3 separate regions of the Homo sapiens genome follow, and all the other regions are linked to region 3. The links are contacts of gene promoters, found by promoter capture Hi-C in blood cells and fetal thymus (Javierre and others, 2016). All regions are on one chromosome and are shown on one strand. The core of a region is centred on a gene start or on the middle of the fragment in contact, and the rest is flanking DNA. Distances in the headings are between cores, read along the strand shown. Region 1 has its middle 26 kb from the start of SMIM31. Region 2 overlaps SMIM31 (small integral membrane protein 31). Region 3 holds the start of TKTL2 (transketolase like 2).

The links. The method cuts DNA at HindIII sites, captures the fragments that hold promoters and counts their contacts. A CHiCAGO score of 5 or more calls a contact.
Region 1: a contact is called between a fragment that was not itself captured here and the fragment with the promoter of TKTL2 in region 3, in 9 of 17 cell types (endothelial precursors, naive CD4 T cells, naive CD8 T cells and 6 more). The highest score is 10.6, in endothelial precursors.
Region 2: a fragment that was not itself captured here is called in contact with the fragment with the promoter of TKTL2 in region 3 in 6 of 17 cell types (endothelial precursors, total CD8 T cells, naive B cells and 3 more); the score reaches 10.5 in endothelial precursors.

Annotation. Positions count from the first base shown.
Region 1 is chr4:164,726,227-164,729,688 of GRCh38, reverse strand. It overlaps the pseudogene CHORDC1P3. Among named protein-coding and RNA genes, the nearest start is that of SMIM31, 26 kb to the left of the region's middle. RefSeq lists an enhancer at 1,885-2,054. The HindIII fragment of the contact is 5,791 bases long and covers 1-3,462 here.
Region 2 is chr4:164,763,837-164,767,103 of GRCh38, reverse strand. All of the region lies in intron 1 of SMIM31 (small integral membrane protein 31), which reads right to left. Among named protein-coding and RNA genes, the nearest start is that of SMIM31, 11 kb to the right of the region's middle. The HindIII fragment of the contact is 3,677 bases long and covers 1-3,267 here.
Region 3 is chr4:163,472,474-163,476,013 of GRCh38, reverse strand. It overlaps TKTL2 (transketolase like 2), which reads left to right and starts at 2,260. Exons shown (of 1, transcript NM_032136.5): 1 at 2,260-3,540. The coding sequence starts at 2,280. The HindIII fragment of the contact is 3,282 bases long and covers 1,531-3,540 here.

The DNA.
Region 1 (3,462 bases), core at 712-3,211, 1.3 Mb before region 3:
CCTCAAGACATTATTGTGATACAGCCACTGGTATTTGGTTTATTCCTAGAACATGCACCAAACTTCTTGACTTCCATCTCTTTTTCAGCTCTATAATCCATATGTAAATTCTATGCCTCACCTTGTAACTCATCATCTCTTTCTTTTTATTTCTAATGTGAGCTTCTTCTTTTTTTCTTTTTTTTTTTTTTTGAGTCTGAGTTTTGCTCTTGTTATCCATGCTGGAGTGCAATGGCACAATCTCTGCTCACTGCAACCTCCACATTCCAGGTTCAAGTGATTCTCCTGCCTTAGCCTCCCAAGTAGCTGGGATTACAGGCATGCGCCACGATGCCTGGCTAATTTTTTGTATTTAGTAGAGACAGGATTTCACCATGTTGATCAGGCTGGTCTCGAACTCCTGACCTCAGATGATCCACCTGCCTTGGCTTTCAAAGTGCTTGTATTATAGGCATGAGCCACCGTGCCCAGCCTAACGTGAGATTTTTAAGCAATTTGTTTGCTATGCCTAGTATTGGAAAGACAGAGACAGGTGCTGGGAGGATCAGGATGATCATGAGCATTTAAAGTAGAGAGAGAGATAGACAGGGAAAAGGGATGCAAAGTGTTAAAAGGTATGGAGAAAGGAGGAAAGGTGATTAGATGCATTGGAGGAGAATGAAGCCTGTGAATTCAGCCTGGTCCCTAAAAGATCTATAGGATTTCAACAGATGATAAAGAAGACAAAGAGAATGTAGTCGGATGGGATATTCAGAGCAAAAGTTGAAAGATGTGAAGGTACATTCTGCATTCAGGAGATAGTGTCCCCTGGAGAGGCTCCCACAAGGCATAGTGAGGGCAGTGGGAGGAGTGAGGCAATGGGGGAATCTAGGCTCTAGGCTCGGGAGGGCTGAGATCATGTTACTCAGAGGCTTTAGAAGGAGGCCTTAACAAGGAGCGAGAACAGTAGGCACAAGTTTGGGGTTCCTGAGTAGAAAACGTCAAGCGGTTCAAAGCAGCTTTTTCATGTCTGTAAGACCAAAGCCTCCAACACCTTGCCTGGAACTGTGGTTCTTAGATGTGCAGTTTTTCTTTCTGAGCTACAGCACTGCGCCAAGTGTGAATCCAGGTAGAAAAACAGAAATACCACTCTGCTGTCTTGAATTACAGGACAATTTTCACACATGCTCTATGGGGAGTATCCCATTGGTCAGACTGGCTGAAGGACTAAGCAGAGAAAGAAGGGAAAAAAAGTTAATTTGTTGTTAGAGGATTCTAGAAGCATAGGCTTTGGCAGGTTTTAAAAGGAAAATTTACAGCTTTAATAAAACTGATAAAGCCATCCTAACTTTTATGTGGTGAATATGATTTGATATTCACTGAAGATAAATTAGACATGGTGAGTTTCCCCAGGGCTCCTGCTGGAGACTAAAATGGTATTGTCTGAAATGAACTCAAAGAATCATCTTTGGAGTTAGATGCGGGCAAATTTGAAGAGATAAGGACCAGGCTAAGAGTTCAAGCATGACGTGAACAAATATGAAATAGAATTTAAGTCAAACGGTGTTCAGTGTTTTTTAGGTATCATTGTGCATACAAAAATCCAGAGGAAAGCAGGAGCAGGCTCAGAGGGGCCTTAGCTGGCTTACTTCCAGAATCACAGGCTCCATTGAGTCCCATGATGTCTGACCCCTATTCTTATTGGGCCATACGTTCGTTTAGTTAAAACAGGATATAGAACCATGTGCAATTGCATCTTATTTATCTCTCCAGATCCAGCAAGAAGATAATTTGCACATAATGACAGATTGGCTCAGGTATCTAGCCCCAAATAGAGGGTCTGGTTGTGATCCATCATCATGACATTTCAGCTTTAACAAATATGGCTGCTCACAGAGGACACAATACATGAGTGAAAGTGGAGGGACAGAATTTTTTGGAGCCATCCATCAATAAGAAAAAGGATGGAGGGTTTTTATGGAATACGACCTTCATCAGTTAGCAGTGGCATGAGTTTTACCTCAAACCCTATTAAAATCCTTTTTTAAAAAACAATTAAGCTATTTTATTGAATATATCATAGTTGTCATAAAGTTCATACATTTCACTTTTTGATACCCTAATGTATTTCCATGAACCTTTAAGTCTACAATTTTATAGATATAGTTTTCCATCCAATAAGCCAGAGGTAGATAATTTTTTTTACATGTAACTAATTAAAGGCTTTACAAGAGGTTAGGCTGTAAAAAGTTACAGTTTTGCCATAACACCACCGAAAGACACTTAATTAGGAAAGAGTTTTTTTCTACATTATTTCTTAGTCTTATAAAATGGTAAATTTTAACCAAATTGATACCTTTGTACTCTTATTTGTTTCCTATACTCTTAAATCATACTGCTTGGCAAGCGATATAAGTATTGATATAATTTTTAAATTCAATTAGTTGTAAACAAACTCTGATTTGTTAATAAGTGCATGTATTTCCCTTTAACCACCTACTATACTACCTCAGAATTAATCCTCCTATAAAAACCCTCCCACATAGAAAAAATAATGCAGAGCTTCATCTCTTCCTCAGAGATTTTCATATATTATAGGAATACAAATCCATAAAAAAGGATTAAAAATTGACATTTCATCTTGCCTTACTAATTATGAGATAATAGAGATGTGACAAAAACAAATGTTCCTTAATGTTTTTCTGCCTAACATAATATTATACTAAGAAATACTGCAATTATGTTGGTGAGCTATTTTCCAGCTTCTCCAAGTATAGGACACAACTATGGTTCTATCAGCGAGGAGAAATGAATAATCTATCTTACATAACTCAAAAGAACGATGGGAGGCACAAAAAGGTGAACTGACTTTGGCTTTTAAGAACCTGATGTTGATCCTGAAATGCCAGATTCAACAACACAACAAAACAAAAGATTACAGCAGCAAGATACCACTTTGCCACACATTATTAAGAATTCTGAAATAAGCAATAGCTCAGTCACTCAATCTGTTGTATCTTCTGTTTGTTTTTCTTGCCTTTTGGTTGCAGGCAATTCAAGGTGTGCCTATTGCATAGGACCAGCTATTCTTACTGTGCTCTCTGTCTGCATTGCAGTCATAGCTACCTAACTTCACTTTTCAACAATCACAATCCATAATTTTGCATTTTGATGAAATTTCTTCTCTTCTTCAAATACAATGCGTTGGTTTTGTTGTTGATGTTGTTGTTGAGACAGAGTCTTGCTCTGTTGCCCAGGCTGGAGTACAGTGGTGCAACCTCGGTTACTGCAACCTCTGCTTCCCAGGTTCAAGTGATTCTCATGCCTCAGACTCCCAATCAGCTGGGATTACAGGCATGTACCACTACACCTGGCTAACTTTTGTATTTTAGTAGAGACGGGTTTCGTCATGTCGGCCAGGCTGGACTTGAACTCCTAGGCTCAAGTGATCCACTGGCCTTGGCCTCCCAAAGTGCTGGGATC
Region 2 (3,267 bases), core at 349-2,848, 1.3 Mb before region 3:
CAGTTCTTCCCTACTAGGCCCCCATCACCTACCCCACATCCCGTCTGATGGTAGCATGTGTGACAGTTTGCATGCTCCTGCACTGACCTTGCTTGTGTTCCTTGCCCTGCTAAGCTCATCCTGTCTTCCTCCTGCCTGAGAATCTCCTCTACATTCTCATTGTCTACTTTCTCTGTGTCTTCTCTTCAGTTCAAGCACCACCTCCCCACAGAGGCATTTCTTGACTTCTAATCTAAGCCAAGTTCTCAGCAGTTTTATTTTCATCACAGCTATTCTCCATTGCATTTTTCTTCTTTTTTTTTTTTTTGAGATGGAGTCTCACTCTGTCACCAGGCTGGAGTGCAGTGGCACGATCTCAGCTCACTACAACCTCCGCTTCCCGGGTTCAAGCGATTCTCCTGCCTCAGTCCCCCGAGTAGCTGGGACTACAGGTGTGTGCCACCACGCCTGGCTAATTTTTTGTATTTTTAGTAGAGATGGGGTTTCACCATGTTGGCCAGGATGATCTCAATTTCCTGACCTCGTGATCCGCCTGCCTCAGCCTCCCAAAGTGCTGGGATTACAGACGTGAGCCACCGTGCCTGGCTACATTTTTTTGTTATTGTTTGTCTGTCTTTCCCCATTAAAGTTCTATGAAAGCAGTCTGCTTTGTTTATCTCCGTACCTATAGGGCTTAGAAAAATGACGGGCATATAGTACATTTTCCCATAAGTATTCACTGAGTGACCATAAACGAGTGGATGCAAGCAGCACCGAAGAAGGCAAGTTGATGCAAAACTCTGAATTTCACAGCTGTGAATGGAAACTCTGGATTGAAGATGTATTTGGAAATCTCAGCGGCATCAAGCACTCTATTACTTGAGAAAATCCCACCCAGAGGACAAGAAGTATATTTTGAAAATGGCTTTAAGGTTTCCATAAAACAGGCAGCATGGTTGGGATTGATGGTTTTTCTTGCTGCTGTTATTGCCCTCACGGGGGAGATGTGTTTCTTTTCCTTTGTTACTTTATTTTTCTGTCTCATGGCTGCTGACAGAGCTCACTGCTCTCTTTGTGCACCATCCGTTCATTCTCTCGCGGCTCCCTTGAGTGCTGTTATGATTGCTCGGGGACAGCATGGAACATGCTCTTCTTATTGAGTCTCCTTCCTATTGTAGATGCTGTGTGCATGCATCAAGGGCCAAGGGGACTAGGTAAAATGACTGCCTTCATCTAAAGAAAAATCTGCCAGAGTAAAAATAAAGGGCTTATTTACAGGAAGTAAATGCACTTTTCTGGGCAGTGGGAATTTAGTGTTTTGAATTCTTATAGCCTGCTACATTAGAAAACTATGGGCTGAAAAAAATCTGTGAGATACTGCAGTGCCCACTCCCCCCTTGCCTTCAAAGGCCTTGTGGAAAAAGTCTAAAGGCTACTAACCAACGTGCATGCCACTTCTGTTGCTTCCTGGATTTATCTGCCTTTTTTTTTTTTTTTTTTCTGAGACAAAGTATCCCTTCCTTCTTTAAAAATTCTGAACAAGACTCACCTGCTGCATTGAATGCTTATCTAATTTAAATAATCTGAAACCAGTGGCACTTTTTTCCGTTTTATCTGTAGGAGGGTGGTTCTGTCATGGTGTAAATCCTGTCTACTAAACAAAGCCTTGAATTATCCCGTCCATCTGTGAAATGCCAACAACGCTCATTAGTCTCTGCATATGGTTTCTGAATTATGTATTCACCTTGAAGGCTCATACAGGCAGAAAACTGTTTTTCTTATTTACTCCCTGACACCAAGTACTTGGCAAATCACGCTTGCTGAATGACAAATGATGTGTCCCAGCTCCTGTCAATGCTGTTCCTACTTGACATTTCAACCTGCTACATGTCTCTTTGATTTTCTCAATCTTTCTTTTTGGATGGATCCTCTATCATGTTGCCTTCCTCTGTTTCTTTGGGCAACTCCATGTCTCAAGTCTTCTTCTGGTCAAACTCTGAACAAAAAGCCATCTTGTCCTTGAGAACTTTCCTCCAAATAAAATTTCAGGTTTGGAAAGAAAATCAAAAATCACCTTGTCCAGACACCATACAATGATTGAATTTTCCCTAAACTGTTTTGGTGAAATAGATGGCCAGCCTGAATTCCTCTAGTGATGAGGAACTCACTGTCATTGGAGGCAATCTGTTTAATCTCTGGATAACCCTGCTCTTTAGAAAACTCTATATCAGCTAAAATTCTGTTCTTTTTAACTATTACCATGTGATTCCTAAATACAGAACTAAAAAGTTCTCCTTTTATGAGAGGGATCCTCAAATATTTGAAGACCAGGAATTTGTCATGTTGCCTGGGCTTTCTTTCCTTTGTCTAGACAAATATTCTTCTTATGACATAATTCTGTGTCCTTTGTCCCTTTTGATTTCTCTCCTTTACTTCCAAATCCCTCTAAAGTGGAGTAACCAAGCTGAAGGCAATATTTTGAATTAGGTTGACTGGATTCCAGTAAGGCAACAACAGCACCCACCACATTTTTTTCTATTTTTTTCTTTTTTTTTTTTTGAGATGGAGTCTCGCTCTGTCGCCAGGCTGTAGTGCAGTGGCGCGATCTTGGCTCACTGCAACCTCCGCCTCCCAGGTTCGAGCAATTCTCCTGCCTCAGCCTCCCGAGTAGCTGGGACTACAGGCACACGCCACCACGCTCAGCTAATTTTTGTATTTTTAGTAGAGACAGGATTTCACCATGTTGGCCAGGATGGTCTTGATCTCTTGACCTCATGATCTGCCCGCCTCGGCCTCCCAAAGTGCTGAGGTTACAGGTGTGAGCTACTGTGCCCTGCCACACCCACCACATTTTAACTCAATGGTCTGCCAATGGTCTGGTTGCCGGTCAGGCCTCATTTAAAAAAACATATAGGGCAATCCATGCCTCCAATGATAGTGAGTTCCTCATCACTAGAGGAATTCAGGCTGGACAGCTATTTGACCAAAACAGCTTAGGGAAAATTCAACAATTGTTAGTTTTCAATTTATTTAATATCACTTTCTGAGTTTCTAAAGGATGATTTAAAAATTACAGTTATTAATTTTTGTGATTATAAATATACTATTATAAATAATATGTTGAAGAATTTTGGAAACTAAAGATAGATATAGCACTTCCTATCTACCGTTATTTTTCTTATCTCACAGAATGTTTGAAGATTCCTTTGGCTTTATGTCAACCACAAGGTTTTTTCCTCCCAATTTTATTGAGGTATAATTGGCAAATAAAAATTGTATACAGTTAGG
Region 3 (3,540 bases), core at 1,011-3,510:
TTAGAGTTCTTTTTGGCCAAAATAATGGTGAGCTACCTGTGTTTATATTAACTACTTTCCTGTCAGCCTGTAGTAGTTTGCTATTATTTTACTGTGATTATTATTTTTTCTCTAATTCCCATCTTCTGTACTACCAGTTCTAGCCTAGTCTGCTTGTATTTCCTCCTCCTTTATTTGTCTAAAAAGATAAACAAGCTTTAATTTGCAAAGGACATGGAGAGTTATGGATACATGATGACCTCTTAAGAACTTCTCCAATGCCAACATTCCTGCAACAAGTCTTAAAATCAGTAGTGTCATATTATTACTATTTATTCTAATATGTGTCCTTAAAAGTTAAAATGATAGAACTAGTTGAAATAGCAAATAACATTTGAAATATTTTTCTGAGATATAATGCAAGAGATAATAAGTATAAAGAGTAACAACACCCCCTGAGTTAGTTGTTTACAACCCTGACTGAACATTGAAATTGCCTGGGGAAGATTTTAAAATTACTGACGCCTAGATCTATTGCCTAGAAATTCTGATATAATTGGTCTGGAGTGCAGCATGGACATGAGATGTTTTTAAAACTTCCCAGATAATTCTAAACTACAACTAATGTTGAGAACCACTGGTCTCAGACTATCTCCAGATTATGTTATTAACCTTGACTACCCATTATAATCAATGGATGTATTTTAGAAACATAGCTTCCCAGACTCCAGGTCCAGAAATTCAAATTCTATTTTTCTGGGATGGAACCAGGCATTGTGTTTCTTATGTGCCCTAATTTTAACGTGAAGTTAAGGTAAGAATTATTGCTCAAGAAACCAAGAGGTTTAACATCGCAATATGGGAAGGTATGATATATTATCATTGTGTTTTTTTTAATTGTTGTTTTATTGATGACAAACCATAACCTTGGCCTGCTAGAAGAGTTCAATGGCACAAATTTAGTTTTTTTTGTTTTAGACGGAGTCTCGCTCTGTCTCCCAGGCTGGAGTGCAGTGGCACAATCTGGGCTCACTGCAAGCTCCACCTCCCAGGTTCACGCCATTCTCCTGCCTCAGCCTCCCGAGTAGCTGGGACTACAGGTGCCCATCACCACGCCCAGCTAATTTTTTTGTATTTTTAGTAGACACGGGGTTTCACCGTGTTAGCCAGGATGGTCTCGAACTCCTGACCTTGTGATCCGCCTGCCTCGGCCTCCCAAAGTGCTGGGATTACAGGTGTGAGCCACAGCACCCGGCCCACAAATTTAGTTTTTTAAAGTAAGTAACTTTGTCTTAAAAATGATTTGTAGTAATAGTCATTAAAAGATAAACTGAGGCACATTAAAATATTAAAGCATTTATTTGACCATTCAGTGATTCATGAATCTGGTAGCTCCTGATAAAGGAGCCAAGGAGAAGGCTTTTATAGGGTGAATTTGGAAGCAAAGGAAAGATATTTGATTGGTTAAAGTGGAGTACTAGACTTATTTGGGTCATCCCAGTGGAAAGTCCCCAGTTAGAAGTTAGCTGGCAGTTTCTGATTGATTAAGCTTAAATTTCCTTTTTATCATTTACACTGATTTGGGTTTCCTTTCCTTAGGTAGGAACTCATGGAGCTGAAGCTACCTCAGCCTACTGGCCTTCTAATTATTTCAACACAGAAATAGTACTTTACGGCACACTGGAGTTGCAATTCTATTCTGCAATTGGGTGGTTTCAGATTTGTTCTTCCTATAAATTTTGGTCAAATTAGTCATTGCATTTCTTTCTATAAGTCTGAGATTCAGATATTTGGTTGCTCTGAGAAAGTCTCTGTTGAGATAGCATTGCCATACTGGTCAGATTGAAAGTGACTTTGTATCCTTTCTATTAATGTTCTGATATGAAAGAGTGATGACTCGGATATAGTGTTAATGCATTAAAAAAGCACAGCCTGACAAATCGCTTCCTATAATACACAGAAAAATGTCTAGTCTTGAATTTATAACACAGGGAAAGGTAAAAAATTTAATTATGCTTCCTAATGTTGAACATGCACGTGACAAAGTAAATACTAAAAATCCATTCAGCTGGGCGTGGACAGGGAGAGGGAACGGTGCACATCAGAGGGTGCAGGCTACTCCAACGTTTCCGTTTCCTCAGTCTCGCGGGAAGCTCCGTTGTGGGCGCCCCGGCTGGTGGCTGAGCTCAGGCCTTCAGGCAGAGGGGAGGCGAGGGCGGGGCGGTCACGTGAGAGCACTGCCGCGGTGGGTTGTGGGGGTGCTGCGGCGCCGTTTGCTTTGCCAAACCGACAAAAGAGAGATGATGGCCAACGACGCCAAGCCCGACGTGAAGACCGTGCAGGTGCTGCGGGACACAGCCAACCGCCTGCGGATCCATTCCATCAGGGCCACGTGTGCCTCTGGTTCTGGCCAGCTCACGTCGTGCTGCAGTGCAGCGGAGGTCGTGTCTGTCCTCTTCTTCCACACGATGAAGTATAAACAGACAGACCCAGAACACCCGGACAACGACCGGTTCATCCTCTCCAGGGGACATGCTGCTCCTATCCTCTATGCTGCTTGGGTGGAGGTGGGTGACATCAGTGAATCTGACTTGCTGAACCTGAGGAAACTTCACAGCGACTTGGAGAGACACCCTACCCCCCGATTGCCGTTTGTTGACGTGGCAACAGGGTCCCTAGGTCAGGGATTAGGTACTGCATGTGGAATGGCTTATACTGGCAAGTACCTTGACAAGGCCAGCTACCGGGTGTTCTGCCTTATGGGAGATGGCGAATCCTCAGAAGGCTCTGTGTGGGAGGCTTTTGCTTTTGCCTCCCACTACAACTTGGACAATCTCGTGGCGGTCTTCGACGTGAACCGCTTGGGACAAAGTGGCCCTGCACCCCTTGAGCATGGCGCAGACATCTACCAGAATTGCTGTGAAGCCTTTGGATGGAATACTTACTTAGTGGATGGCCATGATGTGGAGGCCTTGTGCCAAGCATTTTGGCAAGCAAGTCAAGTGAAGAACAAGCCTACTGCTATAGTTGCCAAGACCTTCAAAGGTCGGGGTATTCCAAATATTGAGGATGCAGAAAATTGGCATGGAAAGCCAGTGCCAAAAGAAAGAGCAGATGCAATTGTCAAATTAATTGAGAGTCAGATACAGACCAATGAGAATCTCATACCAAAATCGCCTGTGGAAGACTCACCTCAAATAAGCATCACAGATATAAAAATGACCTCCCCACCTGCTTACAAAGTTGGTGACAAGATAGCTACTCAGAAAACATATGGTTTGGCTCTGGCTAAACTGGGCCGTGCAAATGAAAGAGTTATTGTTCTGAGTGGTGACACGATGAACTCCACCTTTTCTGAGATATTCAGGAAAGAACACCCTGAGCGTTTCATAGAGTGTATTATTGCTGAACAAAACATGGTAAGTGTGGCACTAGGCTGTGCTACACGTGGTCGAACCATTGCTTTTGCTGGTGCTTTTGCTGCCTTTTTTACTAGAGCATTCGATCAGCTCCGAATGGGAGCCATTTCTCAAGCCAATATCAACCTTATTGGTTCCCACT